4 separate regions of the Homo sapiens genome follow, and regions 2, 3 and 4 are each linked to region 1. The links are contacts of gene promoters, found by promoter capture Hi-C in human tissues and cell types (Jung and others, 2019). All regions are on one chromosome and are shown on one strand. Each heading gives the region's core, a stretch centred on a gene start or on the middle of the fragment in contact. The rest is flanking DNA. Distances are from core to core; before and after follow the strand shown. Region 1 holds the start of SH3BP2 (SH3 domain binding protein 2). Region 2 overlaps LOC124900839. Region 3 overlaps POLN (DNA polymerase nu). Region 4 overlaps RGS12 (regulator of G protein signaling 12).

Evidence for each region. Contacts are between HindIII fragments. The study calls those that stand out against the background at their distance.
Region 2: a fragment that was not itself captured here is called in contact with the fragment with the promoter of SH3BP2 in region 1 in 1 of the 25 tissues and cell types used here (dorsolateral prefrontal cortex).
Region 3: a fragment that was not itself captured here is called in contact with the fragment with the promoter of SH3BP2 in region 1 in 2 of the 25 tissues and cell types used here (lymphoblastoid cells and pancreas).
Region 4: a fragment that was not itself captured here is called in contact with the fragment with the promoter of SH3BP2 in region 1 in 1 of the 25 tissues and cell types used here (H1 embryonic stem cells).

What each region holds. Positions count from the first base shown.
Region 1 is chr4:2,791,542-2,794,427 of GRCh38, forward strand. It overlaps SH3BP2 (SH3 domain binding protein 2), which reads left to right and starts at 1,544. Exons shown (of 13, transcript NM_001122681.2): 1 at 1,544-1,597. RefSeq lists a silencer at 1,262-1,611. The HindIII fragment of the contact is 44,064 bases long and covers 1-2,886 here.
Region 2 is chr4:2,032,124-2,034,939 of GRCh38, forward strand. The region is part of intron 1 of LOC124900839; the gene reads right to left. Among named protein-coding and RNA genes, the nearest start is that of NICOL1, 8.5 kb to the right of the region's middle. The HindIII fragment of the contact is 6,531 bases long and covers 1-2,816 here.
Region 3 is chr4:2,213,944-2,217,149 of GRCh38, forward strand. The region is part of intron 3 of POLN (DNA polymerase nu); the gene reads right to left. Among named protein-coding and RNA genes, the nearest start is that of HAUS3, 27 kb to the right of the region's middle. RefSeq lists a silencer at 1,539-1,833. The HindIII fragment of the contact is 4,456 bases long and covers 1-3,206 here.
Region 4 is chr4:3,395,693-3,398,781 of GRCh38, forward strand. The region is part of intron 4 of RGS12 (regulator of G protein signaling 12); the gene reads left to right. Among named protein-coding and RNA genes, the nearest start is that of HGFAC, 45 kb to the right of the region's middle. The HindIII fragment of the contact is 3,930 bases long and covers 1-3,089 here.

The DNA.
Region 1 (2,886 bases), core at 294-2,793:
ATCCTCCCCTGCCTCTGCCATCCCCTGCTTTGTCCCTTCCCTTCCAGAGGCCCTGCCTTGGTCCTGGTCACTTCCTGGTAGGCACTGGCTCTTCCTCTATGCCTGGGCTCAGGGCCTGGCCACCTAGTTTTCTGACTCCTCCCACTTACTCCCCTCCCCAGTTAACCTCTCTGATCCCAAGTGTGTCTCTCCAGCAGGGAGGAGGGCTATTGCAGCCAGGGATCCCCTTTCTGAGGCTTGGGACCCATTATTGGGCAGCTCTGGGACAGGTGGACGGTGACTTGGCCCACACTCGGTCCAGCTGCAACCCTGAGAACCCGCTTGGTTTGGCTGTGTCTCCTGGAGGCCCTCAGGTATTTCAACCTGTAGGACCCAAACCCAGTCCTTCACCTGCTGCAGGGCCAGCCCTGGACACCCCTGCCCCTGCCTGATTTGGAGCAGCCAATTCAGCCCCTGTCATTGGACTCTGGCCTCTTGTGCTCAGTACAGAGGGTCAGACCTTGGCCGCCTGCCTGGACAGGGCCAGGTCACCACCACCCACCCCCAGCTCCCTTGGGTTCCCAGCAAGATCCTGTCCTTCCTCTACTCACAGCTTCCTGGGCTCTGGGACCTGGGGTCCAGTCCCCACTCCTCATGGGGAGGAGTCCCCCCACGCCCCAAGCAGTTGACTCCCGCACTGGTGGGGGGTCCGCTCGCCCTCAAGCTCTGCAGGCCCAGCTTGGTCTCCCCAGCCTCTTCACTTTCTCCACGGCTCCCTCCACCTACCTGGCCCTGAGAGCTCCCCAGGGAAGCCATTTCCTCCCAGGAAGCCCCTCCTCTTCTCGCCCCTGCCCTTACACCAAGGCATCTGGGCCTACTCTTAGGGAGAGGGTGATGGTGGAGGAAAGGGAGCCTCAGAGGAGGCCAAGTGTAAAGCACCCGGTCTCCTGTGCCTCCCAGCCCCAAGACGACCTCTGGGCCACCGGAGTCCAGACCTGGTCCAAGAGGCGAGGTCCCCCTGGGAAGTGCCTGAAAAGTACCCTGGAGGACATTTGGAAACAAAGACAAGGTTTCCTGGTGCCCAGCAAGCCCTCCCCCACCTCCCCTGCTCCTGTCTTGGCCAGGGCCTAAGTCGCACTCACGGGGCAGGGGTGGGGCCGCCCAGGATCAGGACCACGGGGCTGGGGGGGTGGACAGCGCCCTTTCCACCTGGGTCGCTGGGCACTGGGGTGTCACTGGGAGGGACACGCAGGAGGGACAGACACGCTACCTCACTCACGGGCGAGAACTAAGCACCTACTGTGGACCCGGCGTCTAGGCCCGCGACAACGCCAGTCTTCGCCCCCCAGGGGCCTCGTCCCGGGGCCGCGGAGGCCACGTGCAGTTCCCCGCCCACCCTGAGGTACCGGCCCCGCCCCACGCCCAGCTCGGACCTCCAGGATTGCGGGACCCGCCGGGGAGGGGCGGGGCCGGGGCGGGGCCAGGAGGAGGGCGGACTGGGCGGGCGCGGGCGGGACGGAGCTGCGGCGGCGGCGGGTCCCGCGGGCGGGAGCGCCTGGCGGCCGAGTCAAGCCGCCGCCTCGACCCAGGGCCCGCGGGCCAGGAGAGCGCTCGGCGGGTAAGCCTCGGCGGCGGGTCTCGGCGGGTCTCGGGGGTCTCGCGGGGGGGCGGTCTCCGCGTCTGGAAGGGGCTCGGCGGGCCTTGGCGGTCTGGGGGCTCTCGGCGGGTCTCGGGGGTCTCGGGGGAGTCTCGGGGTCCCGACAGGTCTCGGCGGGTCTCGGGGGTCTCGGGGGAGTCTCCGGGGAGTCTCAGGGGTCCCGGCAGGTCTTGGCAGGTCTCGGGGGAGTCTCAGGGTCCCGGCAGGTATGGGCGGGTGTCGGGGGTCTCGGGTGCGCAGCAGCCTCCCCCGGGCCCCGGGGCCTCCGTGTCCTTGCCAAAGGACGCACGGGGCCTGGGCACGGCGGGCAGTGCCCGAGGGAGCGCGGCTTCGGGGCGGGGGCCGGGTGTCCCTTGCCGGGGGCTCAGGGGTGGGAGGCGGTGCGACGCGTCTGTTTCGCACCCCTCGCGCCCCTCTGGCCCCGCGGCGGGGCCCCTTTACGCGACCCTCCCCACAAGACTCAAAGGCTGCGGCGGGCACTCGCTCTCCGCCCTTCCCGGAATCCAAACTTCCCTCTGCAGCGGCCGCGCTTCACGGAGGGCAAGAAAAGCCGCCCACTGGCGCTGATTCACACTGAAGTGTGAGTGACTGATAGCCGGGCGTCTGAGACTCTCATGGGCAACAGGGAATCTCAGGGGTGGCAGAGGGACTGGAGGAGTTAGGGGGCGGGGACAGCCCCTTCCACCTGTACGCTGGCCTCCCTGCAGCCCAGCACTTTCCCGCTGCTCTGGGCCTCGGCTCCCTGGGGGTATTGAGGGCCTGAGCCCTGCTGTGGGGAGCCTTCTGCTGGTGCTCCTTTCCGTGAGCACCTCCTATCCCCTCTCTGTGCCTCAGTTTGCTCATCTGTTGACACTGGGGACAGCTGTGCCTCCTGGTCTAGTGGCCACACTTAAGTCCTTCGAATTGGCTGTGGCCAGGGGCGGGTACTCCGTGTGGGCTGCTGGGGTGGACAGCCTGCCTGGATGACATGTGTGTGGCCTTGCAGGTGACATGGGCCGGTGATGCAATGTGTAGAATTGTTTCCACAACCGCCTGAAGGCAGGGCCCACAGCCTCCTCCTTGCCGAAGCAAGCCTCTGGGTTCAGGTCAGCCCTGCACCAACTCCATGAGCCTGGACAAGCTCCTGCCCTCACTGGCTCAGGCCCTGTGGGACCAGAGGAGGGGCTGGGCTCCACCCCCTCCTGGTTCTTCCCACTCTGTCCACTGTCTCCTCTACGTAGACACCGTCGAAGGGCCCTCTTGGAGCCCAA
Region 2 (2,816 bases), core at 136-2,635, 760 kb before region 1:
AGCTACTTGAGAGGCTTGTAGTGAGCTGAGATTGCGCCACTGCACTCCAGCCAGGCGACAGAGCAAGACTCCGTCTCAAAAAAAAAAAAAAAAAGAATGTTGAATATTGGCCCCCAATCTCTTCTGGCTTGTAGGGTTTCCACTGAGATGTCCACTGTTAGTCTGATGGGCTTCCCTTTGTAGGTGACCTGGCCTTTCTCTCTGGCTGCCCTTAACATTTTTTACTTCATTTTAACCTTAGAGAATCTGATGATTATGTGCCTTAGGGTTGACCTTCTCATGGAGTATCTTATTGGAGTTCTCTGGATTTCCTGGATTTGAACGTTGGCCTGTCCTGCTAAGTTGGGGAAGTTCTCCTGGAGGATAACCTGAAGTGTGTTTTCCAACTTGGCTCCATTCTCCCCGTCTCTTTCAGGTACTCCAATCAGTTGTAGGTTCAATCTTTTTACATAGTCCAATAGTTCTCGGAGGTTTTGTTCATTCCTTTTCATTATTTTTTCTCTAATCTTGTCTGCCTGCCTTATTTCAGCAAGACAGTCTTCAAGCTCTGATATTCTTTCTTCTGTTTGGTTGATTTGGCTGTTGATACTTGTGTTTGCATCATGAAGTTCTTGTGCTGTATTTTTCAGCTCCGTCGGGTCATTTATGTTTCTCTCTAAACTGGTTATTCCAGTTAACACCATCTGTAATGTTTTATCGTGGTTCTTAGCTTCTTTGCATTGGGTTAAAACATAATCCTTTAGCTCAGTGAAGTATATTATTACCCACTTTCTGAAGCGTACTTCTGTCAGTTCATCCATCTCAGCTTCAGCCCACTCCTGTGCCCTTGCCGGAGAGGTGTTTTGATCATTTGAAGGAGAAGAGGCATTCTGGCTTTTGGAATTTTCAGCATTTTTGCGTTGGTTTTTCCTCATTGTGGATTTATCTACCTTTCCTCTTTGAGGCTGTTGACCTTTAGATGGGGTTTTTGTGGGGTCTTTTTTGTTGATGTTGTTGTTGTTGCTTTCTGTTTGTTTTTCTTTTATTTTCTTTTTTTTCGTTTTTTTTGAGATGGAGTCTCGCTCTGTCACCCAGGCTGGAGTGCAGTGGCGCGATCTTGGCTCCCTCACTGCAACATCCACCTTCCAGGTTCAAGCGATTCTCCTGCAGCCTCCCAAGTAGCTGGAACTACAGGCGCCCACCACCACGCCTGGCTAATTTTTGTATTTTTAGTAGAGACAGGGTTTCACCATATTGGCCAGGCTGGTCTCGAACTCCTGACCTTGTGATCCACCCTCCTCAGCCTCCCAAAGTGCTGGGATTACAGGCGTGAGCCACTGCGCCTGGCTGTTTTTCTTTTAACAGTCAGGCCCCTCTTCTGCAGGTCGGCTGCAATTTGCTGGAGGTCCACTCCATACCCTGTTTGCCTGGGTATCACCAGTGAAGGCTGCAGAACAGCAAAGATTGCTGCCTGCTCCTTCCTCTGGAAGCTTTGTCTCAGAGGGGCACCGACCTGATGCCAGCTGCAGCTCTCCTGAATGAAGTGTCTGGTGGCCCCTGTTGGGAGGTCTCACCCAGTCAGGAGGCATGTGATCAGGGACCTGCTTAAGGAAGCAGTCTGGCTGCCCCTTACCAGTGTGGGTGCACTGCGCTGGGGGGAATGCCCCCTCATCCAGGTCACTGGGACTCTTGGGAGCCAGCAAGCAGGAAAGATTAAGTCTGTCCAACCTGAGACTGCGGCCACCACTCTCCCCAGGTGCTCTGACCTGGGGAGATGAAAGTTCTGTCCGTAAACCCCTGGCTGGAGTTGCTGGAACTCCTGCAGGGAGGCACTGCTCGGGTGAGAAGGGATGGGTCTGGTTCCCAGTTAAAGAGGCAGTCTGGCCACAATCTGCCACAGCTGCTGTGCTGCGCTGTGGGGAATTCTGCCCAGTCCAAACCTCACAATCTCCCTAGCACTGGCCAGGGAAAACTGCCTCCCAGGTTCAAATGACTCTCCTCCCTCAGCCTCTCGAGTATCCAGGATTACAGGCATGCATCACCACACCTGGCTAATTTTTTTTTCTATTTTTAGTAGAGATAGGGTTTTACTGTGTTAGCTAGGCTGGTCTCGAACTCCTGAACTCATGATCCACCCACCTCAGCCTCCCAAAGTGCTGGGATTACAAGTGTGAGCCACCACGCCTGGCCTTGTAAGCCCATCTGTTCTGCCCATTTACTTTCCTCAGGAGTACAGTAGGGTGCTGCTGGCATGGGTGCAGTACCTGGCATTAGTCCGTGGCCTGGAGCACTGGTGTTCTTCACCTGTGGCCTTGGCTGTCCTGTCCATCAGGGCATTTCCTCCGGGATGATAGAGGTGTCCCCCTTTTGGTGTCCCCTGCAGTGAGTAACTGCCACCTCCTTTGGGAGCTGGACAGCATCTACAATTCCAAGATCTCAGAGCAATGCTGTGTGGGGGATTCCTTAGCTGTTAGCGCTCCCTTTTCTTTCCATATGGCGTCATGAGCGTGGAGCACCAGGCACCCATATTTGGAATCGGTAAATATGTTGACTCTTAAGTCTTTTCTCAGTTGGAGGACCCTGATTAGACCAATTAATTCCACTTTTTGAGCAGATGTCTGGGGAGGTCAAGCTTTGGCCTCAATGCCTTCTTCTCGGCTAACTACTGCATAACCGATCTTTCTTTCTCCCTTATGAATAAAACCACTTTCATCTCTGAGCCACTCAACATCGGGGTTATGCAGGGGCTCAAGGGCTCATCTTTGAGGTCAGGCCTGCTAGAGGAGGTCTGTTCTATGGTTTCCACACAGGAGTGAATGAGTTGGGGATCTGTTTCC
Region 3 (3,206 bases), core at 162-2,661, 580 kb before region 1:
TGTAAGCTTAGGCCGGGCGTGGTGACTCACGCCTGTGATCCCAGCACTTTGGGAGGCTGAGGTGGGTGGATCACCTCAGGTCAGGAGCTCGAGACCAGCTTGGCCAAAATGGTGAAACCCCACCTCTACTAAAAATACAAAAATTAGCCAGGTGTGGTGGCAAGCACCTGCAATCCCATCTACTTGGGAGGCTGAGGCAGGAGAATTGCTTGAACCCGGGAGGTGGAGGTTGCAGTGAGCCGAGATTGCGCCACTGCACTCCAGCCTGGGTTACAGGGCAAGACTCTGTCCTGGGAAAAAAAAAAGTAAGCTTAAAAAAGAGAGAGAGAAAAGACCTCTAGAAGAGAACAGACAACCCAGAGACTGATCCCAAGACTTTATATACAACAAAGATAGTATTTCAATTCAATAGAAAAGGATAGATTAATTAATAGGGCTGGTATAACTAGCACCACATCAAAAAGAAAATAAATGCATTGGGAAAACTATTTGGAACAAAAATGACAAAGGGTTAACTGCTATATTATACAACAAGTTCTCATACATTTACAAGATAAGACAAACAATTCAACAGAAAAATGAGCAAAGAATAGGAAGAGGCAATACACAAAACAGAAAACCCAAAGAGGAAACAAATACAATACTCAGGGAAACGCAAATTAACTATAACTGGAAACACAGGGGAAGAGGTAGTCTCATGTATTGCTGGTAAAAATGTAAATAGACTCTTTCTAGAAGGCAAACTGTCAAGACTTATTAAAATTAATAATGCATACATCACTTTGGGAGTTGGGTGGAGAAAGTGACCCACAGGGAGCTCAAGATGGGCCTCTGGGAATGCTAGTTATGTTTCCTGAACTGGGTTTGGGTTTGTGAAATTTTGACCTAAACTAAACTTAGGATATGTGTGCTGTTTTATATATATACACACACACATATACACATACATATACATATATATGTATATACATATACATATATATGTATATACCTCAGCCATATATATATGAGAGACAGAGTGCTCTTGCCTTAACAAAAACAGATAGGAAATAATATCCATCATCTAACCAAATAATCTCTAACCAAATAATCTCACTCTTGGCTGTTTCACAGAAATATATGCAACAGTAAACAGGTTTAAACCAAAATGTTTATAGCAGTATTGCTCATTATGGCAAAGGACTGAAAATAAAGTAGATACCAATCAGAAGAAAACTGAGGAATAAATTACATAATATCCACATCATGAAATACATAGCCACTAAAAAGAATGACCTTGTTAAAACATAGATTGCAGGGGGGAAAATGACTCCAGCTATAGTGGTTGACTGAAGATGATGACCTCATTTTTAAAAATAATGACCAAATCTCCCCGCTTATGCACACGAAGATGTTACGCACATAACACTCGGGTACCCTGGGAGACCACCTCTGTGATGAAGGTTTGCATTTGAAAAGGTGATTGGAGAGTGAAGGAAGCAGAATCCAACCAAGGAAGACAATGGCTAAGATGCAGTCACTCAAAGGCCTGCCCTGAGCTGAGCATGGTCCTACAGATGTGTCTCCCAATGGGTCAAGACAGCTGGGCTTTTATACCCCTGCACAAACTAGTCACTGGACCAGTCACTCCTGGGGAAGGGGTGGGCCCTTGGGCAAAGAAGTTCTTTGCAGCCAGGCAATCAGGGAGGGGCTGTCCCAGGAGCAGGGACAGTGCTTCAGTACTAAAGGGGCATATGGGAACCACAGTGCTTGCTACACTCCACACTGCACTGCTCATAGCCACTTGCTTCAGGGACGTTCTGGGAGCAGCTCCTGTAGGATTCTGGCGGGCCTTTTCCTTGGGAAATTTATAAAAGGAAGGCACTGGGATGAACTACATCTTGCTGCAGCTGGCCTCAAGGTTGCAAATTACATTCATCTCCCTCCTCTACTGCCCATGCTAACTCCTCACCCTTGCCTATCTCCTCTGCTGCTCTAGGTGGCTTAGCTTACCTGATCAGGTAACCCAAACCCTCATCCCTGAGAGGTAAGCCCCTGGCCACCATGCCCTTCTCTGGCCATAGCCCCAGCATTTGCCATCAAATTTGGGCAGGGGACCATGAGGTGGCCAATCACATCACCTGGGTGCTTCCCTGCCCCCAGTTATGTAGTAACAGCTCTACCTCCACCTGACGCCCACGGTCAGCCACCCCAGAAGATGGAAATTACATTCCTTGCCAGCCAGTCTCTTGGCACAAGGAGCTCAAAATGACCAGACAGCAGCCACAGCTGGAAATTAAATGGCGTTCTTCCTGTGCCCCTGCTGGAAAGGTTTTCCCTTTGAGAGTCAAGACCTTTAAACCTTAAGAACCCAGAGGAGTGTGAGGGAGAAATACAGATTTCTAAGTGGGTCACTGGGAGTGATGACTTTCACCTTTTGGTTCCCAGACCCATTTATTACACAAACCAAGGACACTGCACCACGTACTGGTTAGTGATTTGCAGTGCAGACTGCACCCTGGAGGTGACTGCTTCATCACAGGTGTCACCTCCAGGCTGCACACGAGGTGAGCTGTGCCTTCCACAGACCATCCTGCTGCTCCATCAGGCTGGCAGCTTCTTGGTGTGTGGCTGTGAGGGAGACAGTGAGTCCTACTCTCATGTGCCCACTGCTGCAGTTCCTTGGCTGAGCGCAGGATCCTGTGGATCAAACACTCTGTGAAACTTGGGTGATGGAGCTGACTGAATCCATGAGAATGGGAAAGGCAAACCCATGCCTGTAACGTGTGTTGGTTCTGGCCAAGATGAATCACTGTACCTTCTAGGGCACAAGGGGTTCAGTGTTGTCAAATGACTGTTTCCCTCCAAGGAAGGTACAACTGGGGACTCAGTGTTTGGTCTCTGTTGCTGGAAGATTGGATGTTCTGCAGAGAAATAGCTAGGTCAGCTCTGGTGAGGGGGAGCCCCATGCTATGGGCCATGCACAGCATCTACCCACCCCATGATTACTCCATGAGAGAGCCCAGTGTGCCAGCATGGGCGCAGCAGATGGCAGAGGCTAGATGTCAACTGGCCAAGTCATCCTATTAATGTGGTGGTTTGGTGTGTCCCCATGGTGAATGTTCTTGGGTGGGAAGTACTTCGTGACTGTTCCCACAGATCCCTCCACATGCCTTACTCCAGGAACTCCCTGATCTTCCAATCTTTCTCATTCCAGGTACCTGAGC
Region 4 (3,089 bases), core at 280-2,779, 600 kb after region 1:
TATTTTTGGCCCTTTGAATATCTTATTTTGTGAAGTGCTTGTTCAAGACTTTTGCTTATTTTTCTGTTAGGTTATCTGCCTTTCCTTATTGATTTATAGAATATTTTAAAAATATATTCTGGAAATGATTTTATGGTGGATTTACGTATAGTTTTCCCTTAGTGTCTCTAGGGAATTGGTTCCAAGACCCCTTGAGGATACCAAAATCTGCAGATACTTGAGTCCCTGATATAAAATGGTGTAGCGTTTGCATATAACCTACCCATACCTTCCTGGGTACTTTAAATCATTTCTAGATTACTGATAACAGCTAATACAATGTAAATGGTATGTAAACAGTTGTTATACTATATTGTTTTTATTTGTATTTTTTGTTGTATTGTTATTTTTTTTCCATTAATTTTTTTTCCAAATATTTTCCCAAATATTTTCCATCCACAGTTGGTTGAATCTGTGGATGCAGAACTGTGGGTGCGGAGGGCTGGCTGTATTAGATATACCTTGTGTTTTGGATTTATGTGTTTGTGATAGATTTATGTATGTAGTTAAGCCTTTCTATACCTTACCTGTTCATTCTCTTAGTGGTATCTTGTGATGACTGAAAGTTCTTAATATAATCCAGTTTATCATTTTTCCCCTTAGGGTAATGCTTATGTCCCTTTAGAGCAGGCTTTGCCCTTCCCAAGACCATGAAAGTAAATCTGTTTTGTTTTATCTTCAATATTTAAATCTCTGATTCATCTGGAATTGGTATTTTTGTCTATGGTGTGAGGTAGGGGTAAGATTCATTTTTTCTACATGGTATTCAGTTGTCCCAGCTCCATGTAATGAAAAGACAATCCTTCCCAATAACTTGAAGCAACACCTGTATCAGGTAATCATATATTTGTGGGTCTGTTTCTGGCCTCTGTATTCTGTTCCATTGGTCTGTTTGTCTATCATTGGATCAGGACTTCATGTCGTAATTCTCGTCCCTGGCATTTGGATATCTAGTGCTATAGTCTTCATTTTGCTTGTCTTTAAGATTGCCTTGGTTATTCCTGGCCCTTGCATTTCCTTATATATTTTGGAGGCAATTTTCAAGTCACTGGCAGCTTTCCAGAGTCATCTTCACTTTTGTCCAAGCTGGTTGAGACATAGCATTTCTGGAATCTGTGTTGATGCTTTTCCTGGAAATGTTATCACAAGCCACATGCAGCCATTGACATTTGGACAATTGGGGTTTTTTTTTTTTAATTGCTGTAATTATACATATGTGATCTTCAATATGTAGTTACTCATTCTTGCTCTCAAAGTCTTGAGACCATTCCTCCCAGGAATAAATACTAAATCTGGCTTGGTTTGCCTTTTAAAAAACCATCTCTTCTGGATGAATGACCTCTATAAGTATCTAACACCAGCATTAATGGAGATGATTTCAGGCTAATGCATCACCCTCAAATAGACTCTTGCTCGAAAGAAGGTGAGGGAGCAGCCTGGGACACACAAGACCTTGCAAGGACTTGAGAAAAAAGGGACTGGTTGCATCAGAGAAGCCAGTGGGAAGCCCCTGTGTGCCTCTGGGTGCCGAGGTGGGCTGTGGTGGGATGCCACACTGGCTGCGATAGAAGAAGAAGGAGCTGTGCAAGTGCGTGGCCGGGCCAGAGCCCACCCTGTGGTCAGGATGGCCGAGCAGAGCTGAGACCTGACAGATGGGTGAGGATTAACCCTCATATGAGTTTGGGAAGACAGGAAGAACCAGGAAAAAGCTGAGATGGCAGCCAGGGGGTCGCGAGGAACCCAAGAGAGAGTAGTCGTGTGTGCACATGTCCATGGGAGGAGCAGTGGAACGACGTGAGAGGGGTCCCAAGACTAACCTCAGGGTTTTGCCTCAGGCAGCTCGGAGGATGAGGGTGTTTGCAGAGATGGGGAAGACTAGGGTGGGAGGAGCAGATAGGGGGGTGATAACCAAGAATTCTGCTTTGGACATGGGATTTTTGAGATGTTTATTCAAAATCTACTGGAGATATTGTGTAGACAGTTGGATAAATGAGTACAGAATGCAGAAAAGTGGTTGGGCTTGAAAATAGAAATTTGGGAGTCATCAGCGTTTCAATGAAACTCATTGGCTTGGTAAACTTGAGTAATTATAGATCATGCAGAAAAGGCGAGTCTCAAACCCATAAGACACATGGGAAACCAGAAGATGCTGAAGATGTGGTTTGAGAGGCAATAGGACATAGAACAATTAAGAGTATGGCCTCTGGAGCCAAATTATTTAGGTTTACATCCTAATTCTGCTACTTCCTAGCTGTGGGTCTCATTTCTCTCATCTGTAAAATGGAATAATAGTAGGACCCATTACTTACAGACTTCTTACAGGAAGTAAATGATTTAATATATGTGAAGTACATCGGACAATACCTGGTACATTATAAGGAGTTATATAAATGATAACTGCCATTATTTGTAATGGCATTTTAATTGCATTTTCAATATAATTGACCACTGGAAGTGAATAAAATTATTTAGAGGGACTGGGTAGAGAAAATAAGCCAGGAGGTCCTGAAGAAGCTTACAAGATCAACAAGAGAAAGAGCATCAGAGGAGAAAAACTCTCCACTTTGATTGTTAAAAACCCAATTTTAAAATAAGCGATGTTGAACCAGGCACGGTGGTGCACACCTATAATCCTAGCTGTGGATTATAGGGAATGCTTGGGAAGCTGAGGCAGGAGGCTCACTTGAGGCCAAAAGTTTGAGACCAGCCTGGGCAATATAGTTTGACTCCTTCTGAAAACAAACAAACAAACAACAATAAGTGACAAAAGTTTGAAAACAACTAAATGAGAGGATATAACAAGCAATATTAAGAAAAAAGAGAAGTGGCATAACAATATTAATATCAGACAAAGTGAAAAAGCAATAAAAAGAACAAAAAAGACAGTGTGCACCAAAAGTAGCATGAGATTTGCAGAACAGAAGTAAATGGCACGGTATCAACATGGGTAAGTACTCCGAGGGGGAATTATTACACACCTTTTTCAGAAACCAAGAGATCAAGCTGAAAAAAAAAAATAGTAAGATTACAAAGTATGTGAATGGAAAAAT